Linked DNA regions of Homo sapiens: regions 1, 3, 4, 5 and 6 are each linked to region 2. The links are contacts of gene promoters, found by promoter capture Hi-C in blood cells and fetal thymus (Javierre and others, 2016). All regions are on one chromosome and are shown on one strand. Each heading gives the region's core, a stretch centred on a gene start or on the middle of the fragment in contact. The rest is flanking DNA. Distances are from core to core; before and after follow the strand shown.

Region 1 (2,700 bases), core at 180-2,679, 1.4 Mb before region 2:
ACTCATGAAAGAGTTCAGGCCTTTTCAATTTGGATTACCAAAAACAGGCAAATAAAAACAAAAGAAAAAATAAAAACTTACTATACATGTTACATAACAAAGTGTTTCACTCTTTTATGTGTAAAGTCTATTCATACCCTTACCCTCTTTTGGAAACTTATGACTAAAAATCAGGGTACAAAACATAATATTTACAATTCTCCAAGTACCCGAAATACCTCTAAAACAAAAAGCAACCTGTGGAAAAACATTTCAATACCTGACAGAATAAATATGGAAAAGCACAGAAATAAATGTTACTACTACCTTACTCCCAAGGGAGCCTTCCGCAATGAAGTTTACAACAAAGTGTCTTGAAATGTTGTTAATCTGTTGGTATACTTGATAAATTATAAAGAAAACATTTCTATTGGATTCTCATTTTAGGTTGAAAAAAAACCTGGTATTCTAAGTATTAACACAAAATTAAACTTTTGCTTTTAAACTAAACTTATAATAAGTATGCTTTTATCAAAAATATATGAACATGGATTTTAAAAAGCCAAACCCTACAGAGAGGTGTTAAATGAAGAGTTAAAGCAAGTTTTTCTAGTTTGTCTTTCCCATCTGTGATATCATAAAAAAAATATTAATATTTGGTCTTTGTCCCATTTTCTGACATAGCTTCTAAAATCCTTGGAATCTCTGGAGTGATGACTGTTTTGTACAATAATCAGATGACTGGTGCCTGGGGGCCCCTAGATAGCTTCAGGATGGGGGCTAGGTAGCCAGGGGAATCAGCCCAGTGATTAAGGGTTATAACTTTGATTCCTACCCCCAGCCGCCACTTCTGGGAAGAAAGAAGCTGAAACTTGAGTCCATAAACCAATGACTAGTGATCTAATCAATCTTGCCTATTTAATGAACTTCCATAGAAGCCCAAAAGGACTGAGTTCTGTGAGCTCTCAGATAGCTGAACACTGAAGCTCCACGCCCCTTCTCCTCTTCTCTCCTTCTTTGTCTCACCTTGTACATCTCCTTCCATCGGGTTAATTCATCTGTGTCCTTTGTAATTGCCTTTATAATAAATGGGTAAATGTAAGTACAGTAGTTCCCCCTTACCCAAGATTTGACTTCCTTTTTTTTTTTTTTTTTTTTTTAGTGATGGAGTCTCGCTCTGTTGCCCAGGCTGGAGTGCAGTGGTGCGATCTTTTGATTAACATAGGTTTTTAACCTCAATATCATTCGGTTTATCAATCTTCATTATGTATTTGCTTTTATATATTTTTAAGGATTTCTTCCTTAATCTAAGATTGGAAAAATAAAATATTCCATATTTTTTTCTAAAAATTTAAAGTTCTGCATTTCATATTTACATATACATCTAGGTAAGAATACACTTAGAAATGACTATTTTTTTTTTTTAAGAGACAGGGTCTTGCTCTGTCACCCAGCCAGGCTGGAGTGCAGTTATGCAATCATAGCTCACTTGCAGCCTTGAACTCCTAGGCCCAAGCGATCTTCTCACCCCAGCCTCCTGAGTAAGATAGGACTACAGGCACCCACCACCAAGTATGGCTATTATTTTAAATATTTATTTTTGCAGAGACAGGGTCTCACTACACTGCTCAACCTAGAAGTGACTGTCTATATATTGACATAAGGTAGACATCTAGTATAATTTATTTCCAAAGGTGTAACAAAATGATCATTAATTCAACAGTCCATATTTACCTCAATGTACTTCAATTCTATCTCTGAAACACATTATTTCTATATATACATTGGTGTCTGTTTCTGGGCTATGTAATTATAAATAAGGCTAAGTACTAATCTATTTGTCTATCCCAATGGTTCTCAACCATGATTTGGCAATATCCAGGGACAGTTTTGGCTGTCACACTGGGGTGTGGGGGTGCAAGGTGCTACTGGCATCTAATGGGCAGGGGATAGTGATGCTGCTAAAAATCTTACAGTGCACAGGAGAGCTCCCATCCGCAAACAAAGAATTATCCTGTCCAAAATGTCAATACTGCCACTGTTGAGAAATCTCTGTCTATTCCTCTGCCAGTGATAATTACTTCGGCTTTGTTTTTTCACTTCAGAGGTTTTCTGAAGTCTTTTTCGGCACCAAAAATAGCTATCTCATTTCTTTCAAGAACTTTATTGCATGGCTAGACCTAATACAATGAACAGATTTGTATCAATACATATTTAGATTAAGTTTGTTGCTTTGTTATTTCCAGTAATGCTTGCCCATAGTCCTTAAGCAAACTATCTCTCTAGGCCAATTCCCTAGAATTGAAATTGTGAGTCAAAAGTTGTACGAGCCAGGCATCCCAGCTACTTGGGAGGCTGAGGCAGGAGAATCGCTTGAACCTGGGAGGTGGAGGTTGCAGTGTGCTGAGATCACGCCACTGCACTCCAGCCTTGGTGACAGAGTGAGACTGTCTCAAAAACAAAACAAAACACTGAGAAGTCAGTTGTAAATGACAGTTGATACTGCCAAATGGTTTTACACTGAAATTAAGAGTCTTCCGGGCCAGGCACGGTGGCTCACGCCTGTAATCCCAGCACTCTGGGAGGACGATGTGGGCAGATCACCTGAGGTCGGGAGTTGGAGAACAGCCTGACCAACATGGAGAAAACCTGTCTCTACTAAAAATAGAAAAAAATTTGCCGGGGGTGGTGGCGCTTGCCTGTAATCATCCTAGCTACTCG
Region 2 (2,700 bases), core at 37-2,536:
CTGATGCTGCACACAGCTCTGCTTTGCTTCGAGTCTATCAAACACTGCTCCAGTTAATTCTTACCAAAAAATCCCCCCATTCCCATAACCCAATAATGACACTTCCGTTTGATGAGAGGCATTGAGGTTCCTCTGGAGTGCAGTCTCCCTTGCTGCAGCAAGTTAATAAATCTAACTTTGTTGACTACAGGTTTGTTCCTGGTGCTCTTTATTGGAAGACTTTAGCAATCTTAAACTGCTGGCCCCAAATCCCAAAACAACGGGAAACTCTACTCAGTATCTTTTCTTTTTTTCTTTTTTTTGAGATGGAGTCTGGCTCTTGTCCCCCAGGCTGGAGTGCAATGGTGCAATCTCGGCTCGCTGTAACCTCCACCTCCCGGGTTCAAGCGATTCTCCTGCCTCAGCCTCCCAAGTAGCTGGGACTACAGGCGCCCTCCACCATGCCCGGCTAATTTTTGTATTTTTAGTAGAGACGGGGTTTCATCATGTTGGCCAGGCTGGTCTCGAACTCCTGACCTCGTGATCCGCCCGCCTCGGCCTCCCAAAGTGCTGGGATTACAGGCGTGAGCCACCGCGCCTGGCCAGTATCTTTTCTTAAAGATTCCTTCTTATACAAGTTGAATTAGACAAGATGGATCATTTTGGCTTTTAGTTCCTCCAACATTCCAACCTAGTTAGAGCGGCTTTTCTCTGTGCATGGAAAATTCTTCCCCCAGATCTCTTGCCTGGCTGGCCCAGTTCATACCTAAGGTAGCCATCTGTCCTCACACTGCCGCACCCCCACCCCGTCACTCCACCTCATCATCTCATTTCATTTTCCTATTTTTCTAATCACTCTCTGAGATTATCTTACTTCATTATCTATTTGTTTATAAATTATCCCAATGAGGATGTTAAGATCAGGAGAGAGGGTACCACGACAGCGCTGACAGCCGCAGCTGCCCAGTGTCTAGAACTGTGCCCAACAAACACTTGTGGAATGAGTAAGCAGACGAGGAACTAGACACTTCGTTTGCCTTCGTCCCCTTTAAATACCCTCCAGGTGGACCCAGCCGCATTAAAACTCTGAGAACTAGGTGAATGGCATTTGGCCTCGCCACTGGCCGGAGCGTTTGCCGTTGATCCAGGCAACCACTGTTTTCCCACCAGTCGTGTAGTCGCTCTACCTGGCTCCGCCCCCCAGGACGCCGAGCCTCGGCCGGGCGGTAAAATCGGCGCTTACCCTTTAAGCGGCGGGACTTCTGGTCACGTCGTCCGCGGTCGCCGGAAGGGGAAGTTTCGCCTCAGAAGGCTGCCTCGCTGGTCCGAATTCGGTGGCGCCACGTCCGCCCGTCTCCGCCTTCTGCATCGCGGCTTCGGCGGCTTCCACCTAGACACCTAACAGTCGCGGAGCCGGCCGCGTCGTGAGGGGGTCGGCACGGGGAGTCGGGCGGTCTTGTGCATCTTGGCTACCTGTGGGTCGAAGATGTCGGACATCGGAGACTGGTTCAGGAGCATCCCGGCGATCACGCGCTATTGGTTCGCCGCCACCGTCGCCGTGCCCTTGGTCGGCAAACTCGGCCTCATCAGCCCGGCCTACCTCTTCCTCTGGCCCGAAGCCTTCCTTTATCGCTTTCAGGTACTTACCGGAGACGGGGGGCGTGGAGACTACAGGCCCCAGGAGGCCCAGCGGCGGCTAAGCGTAGGCTGGCATGTTGCGGGCGCGCGGTGCCTGCTGGGATTTGTAGTGGGTCCGGCGCCGGCGGTTTAGGGCGGGGTCCTTTGGGCCCGGGGAGGCTCTGGGATCTGGAGCGGGGTGCTGGATAGCTGGAGTTGTGGGCTGGCCTGGTGGGGAGGGGTTGACTTCACTGGTATAGTGAGATTGTGCTTCCCGCTCTTCGCACTCAGTGAAGGAAGCAGTGAGATTAGTCGTTGGTAGTTGTCAATCTGTTGGACGCTGGCGATTAGGTCCGCCTGGAGCATTGCCCTCTGACCTCCCTCTGTCACCCACGTGGGTGGCCTGTAGGTGTCAACTTCACCAACTTATAGCTGAGTTCCTTTCACGTTTATGGAGTTTTTTTGTTTTGGTTTTCCTATAGGAGTGATTTAAAGTCAGAGATACAAAGAACGAGTGTATTGTTCTGCATTTCCCTCTAGACCTAATTTAGTGTCCCCCACGTAGTAATAGAATGTACGAAGGAATGGGCAAAGAGTACATTTGTCCAGAAATGGAAGGCCTTGTTATTTTCTTAAGCATGAAGGAAACAGTCCAGAGTAACATTTCTGTCAAGAGAGTGCCAGTTTTCTGAAGGTTATCTGTATTCACCAATTTCTGATTTAAAACTTCAATCAGTGGCAGGTCAGATAGCAAGATCTGGCATTAATTTCAGCCCTTTACTTGGCCTATGGATAACATTTTCTTGTCTTTCCCTGTCTTCACTGGGTGTTACTTCTTGGTTTCCTTTGCTGGTTCCTTATCTTCCTGACTTTTAAATGTTAGGATGTGCCTTGGGAATCAGTTATAGGACCTTTTCTATAGACTCTCCCTAGCTTTAGGTGGTCTCATTCATTCAGCCTCAGGGCTTTACATACTTTCTATAAACTGGAGATTCTGAAATATAAATATAAATATCTTCAGTCCAGATCTGTCTCCCTATTTCCAGATTTGTGCATCCAGCAGTTACTTGAAATCACGACTTGGATGACTAAGAGTCATCTTCA
Region 3 (2,700 bases), core at 62-2,561, 1.3 Mb before region 2:
TGGTCTTTCCAGCAGGATACATCAGACTTCTTTATGCAGCAGCTGGATTCCAAAAGGTAAATGTCTTCGAGGCAATTTTTCCATGTGGAAAATTACCTTGATGCAATGGCAGCCTCCATGTATACACCTACAGGTCACGAAATAGATAGGCTTATAGGCCAAATTAAGAAGCTTAAATCACATTATCTGGTGGTTCTAAAACGTATCCTCAAAGGTTTTGGCATTACTCCTATTAAGATGTGGGGTTTATATCCCTTTCCCTTGAATAGGGGCTGGCCCTAGGGGTTGGCTTATAGCCAGTAGAATACAGTGGAAGTGATACTGTGTGACTTCCAAGGATAGGTCAGAAAACGCCACAAGCCTGCTTCTTTTTAGACATTCACTCTGGGGAAAGCCAGCTGTCTGGTGAGAAGATCACCATGCTGGAGTGGCTGTGTGAAAGTGCTCTGGTTCTCAGCCCCATTTGAGCTACCAGTCAGCCATGTCAGTGAGCCATCTTAGCTATTCAGCCCAGCTGAACTTTCAAATGACAGCAGTTGTGTTGAAATCTGATTGATACTACATAAACGACTCCAATAAAATAACTGTCCAAGTAAGTTCTTCCCCAATTTCTGAGCCTCAAAATTAAGAGCAAAATAAATTGGCTAATTAAACTACTAAGTTTTGGCATAATGTGTCTACCCAAAGAGCAGCAATAATAACCAGAAGAGTTTACCAACCAACATAAAACAGAGTGAGAAGCAAGGGGAAAGAGATAGGGTAGATTAATAAGCTTAGGATAGGCTGAAGGACCATAGCACCTAAATTCTGTTTTATGCAATGTTCTCATGTCTTATCCCTCTCCACCATCCAGTCTTCTCAGCACATAGTGTGGCTACAAGGACCAGACTGGAGAGTAAGTAAGGTGACTCAACAGACTGAAGGGGCCTGGGCTCAACATATGTCTGTTCTGTTACAGAGCTGAGGGGCAAGTGTGTCTGGTTATAATGGTAGCTGGCATTAGTTGGCTTTGTAGCTGGGGGTTTATCTGCTTTTCTTGGGAAGAGATTACATGAGGCCATAATAGCGTTACAATGGGTGTTACCAGTAGGTATGCAATTTAGGGATGACATGGCTGTAAATCTGAAGATAGTATGATCTGTACCTTATTAATACTTAAAAGTCCACTTTGTCTTTCTGCCTCTATCTAAAGCAGCATTTTCATTTGTTCCATCCTTTTTATCTATGTTCAACCCATATCCATTCATTCTATGTGTAACCTTTCTCATAAGTGACTTGCTTCTACATTTTAGTTTCTCTTGTTTTATAATAGAATTAAATATTCTATAGTAATATAGCAAAAGCATTACAGCAAACCCCAATGAGCAAACATGTATCATATCACGTTTATGATGTCCTCCTATTTATTGACCAAAACAAGTCAAATAGCCAAGCCCACAGTCAATGTAGAGGTGGACCACACAACGGAGCGGATAATAGAAGGTGTAGTTCATTGGGGATCACTACTATAACAATCTAATACTAACACATAGTTAGGAGACGGTTGATCCAGGGATCGAACTTTCCACAGTCTGTCTCTGGAGGCTACACACTAAACTACTATTCTGGAGGTGGTTGGGAATGGGTTCTTACTGAAGAACTTTTTTCAAACCTCACTTCCCAGGTCTGGGGCCTGTGATCCACCCCAGTGAATCAGAATATCTTGGGGGTAGGAAATTGTGGGGGGGATGGGGTGGTACTCCCATGAGCCTGAGACTGAAATAGCTCTGCAGAGGATTCCAGTGCACACTAGGGAATGAAGGGGGTTTCAAAGACAAGGAAGATATACTTTATGCACTCAAAAAGCTTTCATTTCCACAGAGAGCATTCTTAATTGTTGTTATTACATCACAGAGGCATCACCTTGGAATTTAAAAAAGAAGCGATTCCTTTCAATGTTTAAGAGACATCAGTGTTTCTCAAGCTTTCGTGTGTGTTATTACTGGAGGGCTTGTTAAAACCCACATGACTGGGTCCAATGTCTACGTTCTGATTCAGGAGGTGTGAAGTGGGGTCCACTATTTCTCACGTCTAAAAAGCTCTGGGACACACTTTGAGAACCAGAGTTAGAGAAGTAGGAGGCTTTAGTGGTAACAATCCTCCATTATTCAGTTTAATATTCTACTTACATGTAGCACATTTACTACCTACAAGTTTCCGGGCTGAGTGCAGCACTGTTTATGATAAGGATGGGATTTAGATCTTGATTACGCTCCAGCAGATTTATTAAGTGGATTTATTCTCTAAGGGTGCCTAAGCGTCATTAGACAGGTTCAGATAAAGCAGAGATCTCCTCCCTTAGAAGAGATTAGGGACAGCTTAATGAAGTAGGAGACCTTTCACCTGGGCCTTGAAAGATGCCTAGGACCTGGATCAGGGGAAATCGTGGACAATCAAATTATTCTTCCCGCTTTAGCACAGAGACAAAAAAATCACAAGCAACCACTAGGAAAGGTCTATGACATTCTTGCCTCTGCCTCTAGCATTAACAATTTGCATGCCAGCTGCTGGAATCTGAACGGGGAGGACTGTTCTCGTGTCAAGGGCTCAGTCTCAGACCCTCCTTGGGCAGGGGTGGAACTGGCTTCGCTTTCTCTTTGGGGCGCCCAGAGCGACTGCATTAGAGCCGGCCTGCTCGGCCGAAGCGGCGGTGGGCGCTGA
Region 4 (2,700 bases), core at 56-2,555, 1.4 Mb before region 2:
GAATTGTTTATTGTCTCTCCTTTTTTGCAAAGCTTACTTGGAATTTCGCATTTACAAGTTTTAAATGAAAAGGTCCAATGTGAAAGATTAAGCCTGGCAGCAATTATACCAGTCCCCCCTAGGTGAACTGCTCCAGGATGGAAAACTGGAGATTGCTTTTCAGCAGTTCTTTTTCATCTCCTTGCTAATGGAATGACTTTTACTTTTTGGTTACAAATGGCAAGGCCATGTAAATCTTGTCCTGCTTGCCGCTACTGGCCTGAACTTGGACATTCCTTTCTAGAACTTTGTCATTTCCCTTCTCTAGTGAAACATTTCTTTTGCTGAGTCCCCTATTGTGGTCTTTACTTTTGATTACCTAATAATCTTTTGGTTTCTGTGTTAACTTGGACAATTCTTCCCCGTGGGTTTAGGGACAGGCTTTACTTTCTTCCTTTATGTGGCTGAGAAACAAGGGACAGCCCTAAATGTTCTTGTCTAGAAACAGGGATACATCCCTTGACCCATGGCATATTTTTCTAACCAATTGACCATGTGGCTTCAGGATGACTCAGATGTTTCAGGGCAGTTGCAACAACTGCTCTTCTCATAGATGAAGACAATAAATTAACTTTGGGACAACATCTGGAGGTTTTGACCCCACACCAAATAACAGAGGCCCTAGAAGCTAAAGGGCACCAATAGATGAGTAGGGGATAGTTATTAAATTATCAGGCTTTATTGCTAGATACTCTTGATATAACTCTTAAAGTATAACAGAAGACCTTAATCCTAGCTACGTATCTACTTGGATCCAAAGGCACCCTAGATCATTCATGTACACAAGCTATGGAACAAATTTATTCCAGCTGGCAGGATTTAAAAGACGGGCCACTAGGGCTGGGTGTGGTGGCTCACACCTGTAATCCCAGTACTTTGGGAGGCTGAGGCAGGCGGATTACTTGAGGTCAGGAGTTCCAGAACAGCCTGGCCAACATGGTGAAACCCCATTTGTACTAAAAATACAAAAATTACCTGGGCGTGGTGGTGCACACCTGTAGTCCCAATTACTCAGGAGGCTGAGGGAGGAGAATCACTTGAACCCAGGAGGCAGAGCTTGCAGTAAGCCAAGGTCATGCCACTGCACTCCAGGCTAGAGACAGAGCGAGACTCTGTCTCAAAAAAGGATAATAATTTTAAAAAAGAATTAACATGTACACAAACTCCAAGTATGGCTTTCTGGTGCTTCATGCTCATGCTGCTATTTGGAAATAATGGGGACTCTTTAACTTCTAAGGGCTCCCCTATAGAACATTATTTGGGAATTTTAAATCTACTAGATGCTTCCTTGCTGCCTAAGGAAGTTGCTGTGATTCACTGCAAGGGACATCAAAAAGAAAACTCCAAAATATGCCAGGCACTGTGGCTCACACCTGTAATCCCAGCACTTTGAGGGGCTAAGGCGGGCGGATCATGAGGTCAGGAGTTCGAGACCAGGCTTGCCAACAGGGTGAAACCCCATCTCTACTAAAAATACAAAAATTAGTTGGGCGTGGTGGCTCGTGCCTGTAATCCCAGCTACCTGGGAGGCTAAGGCAGGAGAATTGCTTGAACCTGGGCAGCAGAGGTTGCAGTGAGCCTGAGATCGTGCCATTGCACTCCAGCCTGGGCAACTTGAGCAAGGCTCTGACTCAAAAAAAAAAAAAAAAAGAAAAAAAAGAAAAGAAAAGAAAGAAAGAAAACTCCAAAATAATAAAAGGGCATTCTTTTGCAGATGCTACAGCTGAGGCAGCTTCATTTGAGGGAACCAGTTAATCTGGTAGGCATGTTGGTGCCCACTGCCTTGGTGACGATAAAACTAGAGCATGGTTAATACTAGAAAAGAACAAAAATGGGCTAAGACCCATGGGTTAACTATAAGCACTTCCAGATGGCTAATTGATGAAAATGACAGATGATATGTACCAAGAGCTGATCAATGGAAAATAGTTAAGTATTGGCATGGCTCTACTCATTTGGGAAGAGATTTCTCATTTCAATTAATATGGCTCATCTGTTTATAGGGAAAGACTTTCTTTTTTTTTTTGAGACGGAGTCTCGCTCTGTCACCCAGGCTGGAGTGCAGTGGTGTGATCTCAGCTCACTGCAACCTCTGCCTCCTGGGTTCAAGCAATTCTCTGCCTCAGCCTCCCGAGTAGCTGGGATTGCAGGCATCTGCCACCATGCCCAGCTAATTTTTGTATTTTTAGTAAAGACAGGGTTTCACCATGTTGGCCAGGCTGGTCTTGAACTCCTGACCTCGTGATCCACCCACCTCAGCCTCCCAAAGTGCTGGGATTACAGGCGTGAGCCACCGTGCCTGGCCGAAAAGACTTTCTTAGAACAGTAAAACAAGTGACTTGGGCCTGTGAATTGTGTGCCCAAAAAAACCTCAAACAACCAAACTTTACCTCCTCCATTAGTAAAGCCTGTTCAGCATAGGGGGTCGTACCCAGAAGAAGATTGGCAAACACACTATACCCAAATGCCCCCATGTAAAGGATTCCAATATTTATCAGTGTTGGTTGATACCTTTCTTTACATGTTGGATTGAAGCTTTTCCTATCTGGCCTGAAAAGTCAATCAAGGTTTCTAAATTTTCATTCAAGGATATGATTCCCAGATTCAGGTTGCCTAAAAGCTTGTAGAGTGATAATGGCCCATCTTTACAGCAACAATAAC
Region 5 (2,700 bases), core at 83-2,582, 1.4 Mb before region 2:
CATTGGAGCTTGCCTTCAACTTTCATGGCTTCTTATCACATTTACTCTTGTCCCATAGAATATCCTGAATTGGTCCATGCAACAGGGCTAAATACACCATACCTGCTAGAGAACTTTTACATGCTATGGATCCCACTGAAAACTGGCAGATTTCTATCTCACCCAGTTTACGAGTCAGAACAGTACTGCCAACTTCTGAATTCCCACAGAAGCCTACACAGCTTGGTGTGCTTCCCTGGTGGCAGAATAATTTTGGTGAAATGAGTGGGTGAGATGCAATAATTTGTCCTTTACTGTGAAGGGGATATCTTGGCATTCAAGCAGCCTACTGGGCCCTAAAAGTTTCACTGAGGTAACAGCTTGCTGGGTCTTAAGGATTATTTCCCATCCTCCAGTGTACAGTATGCTAGCTGCTTATTATTCACCTTATCCAGCTAGCATGATGTCATCAATGTGGTAGGTCATTGTGACATTATGTGGGATGTTTAGATGGTCTAGATCTCTTCGGATTATGACGCAGTGTGGAAGAGTTAACATAACCCTAAGCCAATACTATAAATGGGTACTGCTGTCCTATATAAACACAAACTTAATTCTTGTCCAGCACTCTCAGGACCCAGTTCCATACACATGCTCATGGTTCCTGTTGGTACATGTTGGTTAGATCCTGCATCTCTTTGGTCATATAAGCCCATTTGGAATTGAAAGTAGACACACAGAATGAGGGCAAAACACCTGCAGAACAGCTGCTTCATCATGGTGGGCTTTTTTCATATTAGGTTTTGTTACCTTTGAGTTTTTAAATTATGTGTAAAGCTTCGATTAAAAAAATAAAAATTATTAAAAAGAAACTGAGACAGTCTATCCACCTATCTCTATTTACCCAGTGCTGTTGTTGTGTTACATAAAATTCAATTTTAGCTTCATGTTCATGCAATATTTTCGTTTACCCTTGATTCAACCTTGACCTTTAAAAAGCCAAAAAGACAAATACCTATTTTGACACTGGTTCTGATCTCTCTGAAATTCTGTGTGACCAATGGTCAAGTAACCTTGCAGGTTATTTATCATGTCTAATCTGAAAAAAGTCATTGTATTTACTAATATTTTAATATTCACCTTATAGGTAAGCATTCTAAACATGATTGTGGCAAGAAATTCTTATATGCTTTACATGTTGAAATTCTGTGTCAAATGAAGTACATATGTATATTATTGCAAGAGTGAATTTCTTCAGTAATGATTGTGACAGCTAGTAAATTTAAGTAGAAAGTAATTATAAACTTCCAAATACTTTTTTTAAATGGGCAAAATATATGAAACAATGGCCCTGAAGGCATTGGACATAGGCAGTGAAGGATAGTAATCCATGAGAGATGGAATGCAAACAAGGTGAGCAATACAATTGCTCCAACTTGCTGCCTGAAGAAAGGCTTTGGCATGGGGAGAGGGAACCCAGAAGACTCTGTGAGGTGAGGAGATATAAGTGGGAGTCCTGAGAGCCCAAGGCAACTAGAGTTCACAGGGTAGAATACTAGAGAGGACAGAGTGACACAGAGAGAACTCCAGAGATCTGCTGACCATTCTCCTGAAGTATTAAGCTAAATAATGATTAGTACATGCATGAGAGGAAATAACCAAAGGCTTGGCAAAGAACCATCAGAAAGGATTAAAGAAAACAATACTCAAAGCTCACACAGGATGGTGAATGATTCCTGATCCCGTCAGCAAGAGTGGAAAAGATCCTAATTCACAAGGCACCAGTTAGAGTACTAAGAAAGGTCTTGCTTCAATAGCGGGAAAAATTAACCCTCGACTAAATGCTCTAGAATAACCTAACAAAGCTTAAAAGAGAGACCCAAAAACATTCAAACTGTGTCCAAATAACTTAATCATACTCCAGAAGAAAGTTCAAACTGTTTTAGGGATATGAAAATAATCTACAAAGTAAAATTCACAATGGCTGGCATCCAATCAAAAATTACCAGGCATGCAACAGAAAAATACAACCCATAATAAGAAAAATAAAACATTCTGGGCTAGGTGCAGTGGCTCACACCTGTAATCCCAGCACTTTGGGAGGCCAAGGTAGGTGGATGACCTGAGGTCAGGAGTTCAAGACCAGCCTGGCCAACATGGCGAAACCCCGTCTCTACTAAAAATACAAAAATTAGCAGGGAGTGGTGGTGCTCACCTGTAGTCCCAGCTATTCAGGAGGCTAAGGCAGGAGAATTGCTTGAACCCAGGAGGCAGAGGTTGCAGTGAGATTGTGCCAATGCACTCCAGCCTGGGCAACAGAGCAAGACTCCATCTCAAAACAAACAAAAAATAAAACATTCTGTCAAAACTGACTCAGAAATTACAGATGATGAAGATTATTAGACAAGGACATTAAAACAGTTATTATAATTATATTCCATGTATTCAAGAAACCAGAGGAAAGACTGAAGATATTACAGACAATGAAGGTATAAAAAGACCCGTATCAAACTTCTAGAGATGAAAACTCCAATGTCTGAGATGAAAAATATGTTAGATGAGATTAATGGCAGATTAGATATTGCAGAAAGAAAGATCAGTGAACTTGAAGATGCAGCAGTAGAACCTCCCTGAAACAGAGAGAAAAAAGAATAAAATGAGACACACACCTCCTACCAAAATAAATAGAGCATCAGTAAAGGGTGGGACAACTTCAGGCAG
Region 6 (2,700 bases), core at 178-2,677, 1.5 Mb before region 2:
AGGTGCCCCCAGGAGAGTCAGGGAAGATGTATGGCTGTGGATGCTGACGGTACCAGAATTCTTCCTCGGCCTCCTTCAGCAGCTGGGTGGCCTTCGCCATATCCTTTTCATTCTTATGTTCTTCAAACCGGGCTCTCATCAAACAAGCAAAGTATCGGTATTTGTCTCTTAAACCAAAATGATTTTGAAGATTAGAAATGTTACCTACTCACGTGGTCAGTGTTGCTGTCTGACAGGAGGCTGCACTTCTGATACCTTCTGGATGGGCAGTGGACCTACCCCAACCCTCCCAATGGAGCAGCCGTATCATCATGGCTGCTTCCTCTACAGCCCACCAAACAGCAGCAGCAAAAAAATACTGTATTAAATATATACCCTAACCATTTTTCTCCTCTTACATCCAACAATGGAATGAGGATTTAAACAAAAAAAAAAAAAAAAAAAAAGAAAAGAGCATTCGCAAGAGAAAAGCTATAACCTCTGCAGGATCATTCAACATTCATTGAATGACAACTTCCATTTCCTTCTATCTTGTGCTAGTCACTATGCTAAATTCTGGAGATACAAAGATGAATAAGAAAGGTGTTACTTGGCAGAAACAGTATTGCTTAGCTCATACAGAGCTAGGTTTGTATCCTGACTCTGACACTAGCTGCATAAACTTAGGCAAGTTAAAGTCAAGTTCTAAAGAAACTGGGCAAAGATCAGTTAGGAGGTTTTGACAATAATCTAGGACACAGCTGACGAGGGCCTGAAAGTACGGAGCTGTGATGGTGACAGGAGACAGGGGAGACATTGAGACTTCCAAGTTATGAGAATAGGCTCTCCAGTCAGACTGTATGGGCCTGAATCTTAGCTCTGCCACTACTAGCTGTGTAACTTGGGGTAAGTTACTGTCTTCTGGTCAGGTGCGGTGGCTCACACCTGTAATCCCAGCACGTTGGGAGGCCAAGGCGTGTGGATCACCTGAGGTCTGGAGTTCAAGACAAGCCTGATCAACATGGAGAAACCCCGTCTCTACTAAAAATACAAAAATGAGGCCGGGCATGGTGGCTCACGCCTGTAATCCCAGCACTTTGGGAGGCCAAGGCAGGGGGATCATCTGAGGTGAGGAGTTCTACACCAGCCTGGCCAACATGGTGAAATCCCGTCTCAGCTAAAAATACAAAAACTAGCCGGGCGTGGTGGCAGGCACCTGTAATCCCAGCTACTCTGGGGGCCAAGGCAGGAGAATAGCTTGAACCCGGGAGGCAGAGGTTGCAGTGAGTCGAGATTGTGCCATTTGCACTCCAGCCTGGGGGACAAGAGCGAGACTTCATCTCAAAAAAAAACAACAACAACAACAACAAAAAGGCCAGGCACGGTGGCTCACGCCTGTAATCCCAGCACTTTGGGAGGCTGAGGTGGAGGTCACCTGAGGTCAGGAGTTCAAGACCAGCCTGGCCAACATGGCAAAACCCCGTCTCTACTAAAAATACAAAAATTAGCCAGGCGTGGTGGCGCATGCCTGTAATCCCAGCTACTCGGGAGACTGAGGCAGGAGAATTGCTTGAACCCGGGAGACGGAACTTGCGGTGAGCCAAGATCGCGCCACTGCACTCCAGCCTGGGCAACATAAGCGAAACTCCGTCTAACAAAAAAACAAACAAAAAAAGTCTTCTAGGCCACGGGTTCCTCCTCTGTAAAACAGTGGCAATAACAGTGTGTATATCTTAAGGTTGTCATAAACAGTCAATAAGATAAACACACTTTAAAAAGTGCCTGGTACATCCCAAGTGTTAAATAATGTCAGTTACTAATATCATACTGGAAAGAGAATTTATAAAAACCAGTGTCTAATTATACATGGTGTATGAGTATGTGTGTTATTGGCAAAGGAATAAGGAGCAAATACTTGAGAACAATTCTGAGACTTAAAGCTCAGTAACTGAATTACTAATAATACCATTAGCGGAGGCAGGGAATTTGGGAAAAGAGTCAGAATGGGGAGTGACAGGAAAACAAGTTTGATTTCAAAGAATTTAGATAAATGGAGATTGAGAGAACGGTTGGTGATCTTTTCAATTTTTTTTTTATTATTATTTTTTGAGACAAAGTTTCACTCTTGTCGCCCAGGCTGGAGTGCAATGGGGCTATCTCGGCTCACTGCAGCCTCTGCCTCCCAGGTTCAAGCGGTTCTTCTGCCTCAGCCTCATGAGTAGCTGGGATTACAGGCACCCACCACCACGCCTGGCTAATTTTTGTATTTTTAGTAGAGACGCGGTTTCACATGTAGGCCAGGCTGTTGAACTCCTGGCCTCAGGTGATCCACTCACCTCAGCCTCCCAAAGTACTGGGATTATAGGCGTGAGCCATCATGCCCAGCCAACAGTCGTGATCTAACAAGCAATTCGAACTACAGCTCTAGAGACAAATGAGCGCAGGTGGTGACAGCACTAAATGAGGCTGCCCGAGTACATACAACAACACAGTATGCCTAGGATGGAACCACAGAGAACAGCACAATGAGGGCAAATGGAGGAAGAAATTAAGGCAAGGATTGAGAAAGAATGTCAGATCTAAAAAATGCTGAGCCATAACTGTCATAGTAGCTAGTTTATATCATTTTCCTCTAGAACTATGGACTTTAGTATTCCCAGCTATAGTTCAGTATTGCTTGAATTCTTTTTTTCATGTTTAACTTTTTTTGACACATAATTA

Evidence for each region. The method cuts DNA at HindIII sites, captures the fragments that hold promoters and counts their contacts. A CHiCAGO score of 5 or more calls a contact.
Region 1: a fragment that was not itself captured here is called in contact with the fragment with the promoter of DERL1 in region 2 in 1 of 17 cell types (neutrophils); the score reaches 8.7 in neutrophils.
Region 3: a fragment that was not itself captured here is called in contact with the fragment with the promoter of DERL1 in region 2 in 1 of 17 cell types (total B cells); the score reaches 5.3 in total B cells.
Region 4: a fragment that was not itself captured here is called in contact with the fragment with the promoter of DERL1 in region 2 in 7 of 17 cell types (total B cells, monocytes, fetal thymus and 4 more); the score reaches 10.4 in total B cells.
Region 5: a fragment that was not itself captured here is called in contact with the fragment with the promoter of DERL1 in region 2 in 2 of 17 cell types (neutrophils and naive B cells); the score reaches 6.7 in neutrophils.
Region 6: a fragment that was not itself captured here is called in contact with the fragment with the promoter of DERL1 in region 2 in 2 of 17 cell types (neutrophils and monocytes); the score reaches 6.2 in neutrophils.

Annotation. Positions count from the first base shown.
Region 1 is chr8:124,478,844-124,481,543 of GRCh38, reverse strand. The region is part of intron 1 of RNF139 (ring finger protein 139); the gene reads right to left. Among named protein-coding and RNA genes, the nearest start is that of RNF139, 5.3 kb to the right of the region's middle. The HindIII fragment of the contact is 4,337 bases long and covers 1-2,700 here.
Region 2 is chr8:123,040,888-123,043,587 of GRCh38, reverse strand. DERL1 (derlin 1) reads left to right here and starts at 1,286. Exons shown (of 8, transcript NM_024295.6): 1 at 1,286-1,618. The coding sequence starts at 1,466. RefSeq lists an enhancer at 1,337-1,876. The HindIII fragment of the contact is 6,787 bases long and covers 1-2,700 here.
Region 3 is chr8:124,373,123-124,375,822 of GRCh38, reverse strand. No RefSeq gene overlaps it. Among named protein-coding and RNA genes, the nearest start is that of TMEM65, 1.8 kb to the right of the region's middle. RefSeq lists an enhancer at 2,560-2,700. The HindIII fragment of the contact is 1,073 bases long and covers 775-1,847 here.
Region 4 is chr8:124,445,222-124,447,921 of GRCh38, reverse strand. No RefSeq gene overlaps it. Among named protein-coding and RNA genes, the nearest start is that of TYW2, 4.2 kb to the left of the region's middle. The HindIII fragment of the contact is 2,542 bases long and covers 35-2,576 here.
Region 5 is chr8:124,462,421-124,465,120 of GRCh38, reverse strand. RNF139-DT (RNF139 divergent transcript) reads left to right here. Exons shown (of 2, transcript NR_108047.1): 2 at 1-2,628. Among named protein-coding and RNA genes, the nearest start is that of RNF139-DT, 11 kb to the left of the region's middle. The HindIII fragment of the contact is 1,028 bases long and covers 819-1,846 here.
Region 6 is chr8:124,540,554-124,543,253 of GRCh38, reverse strand. NDUFB9 (NADH:ubiquinone oxidoreductase subunit B9) reads right to left here. Exons shown (of 4, transcript NM_005005.3): 2 at 1-167. Among named protein-coding and RNA genes, the nearest start is that of NDUFB9, 2.8 kb to the right of the region's middle. The HindIII fragment of the contact is 4,221 bases long and covers 1-2,700 here.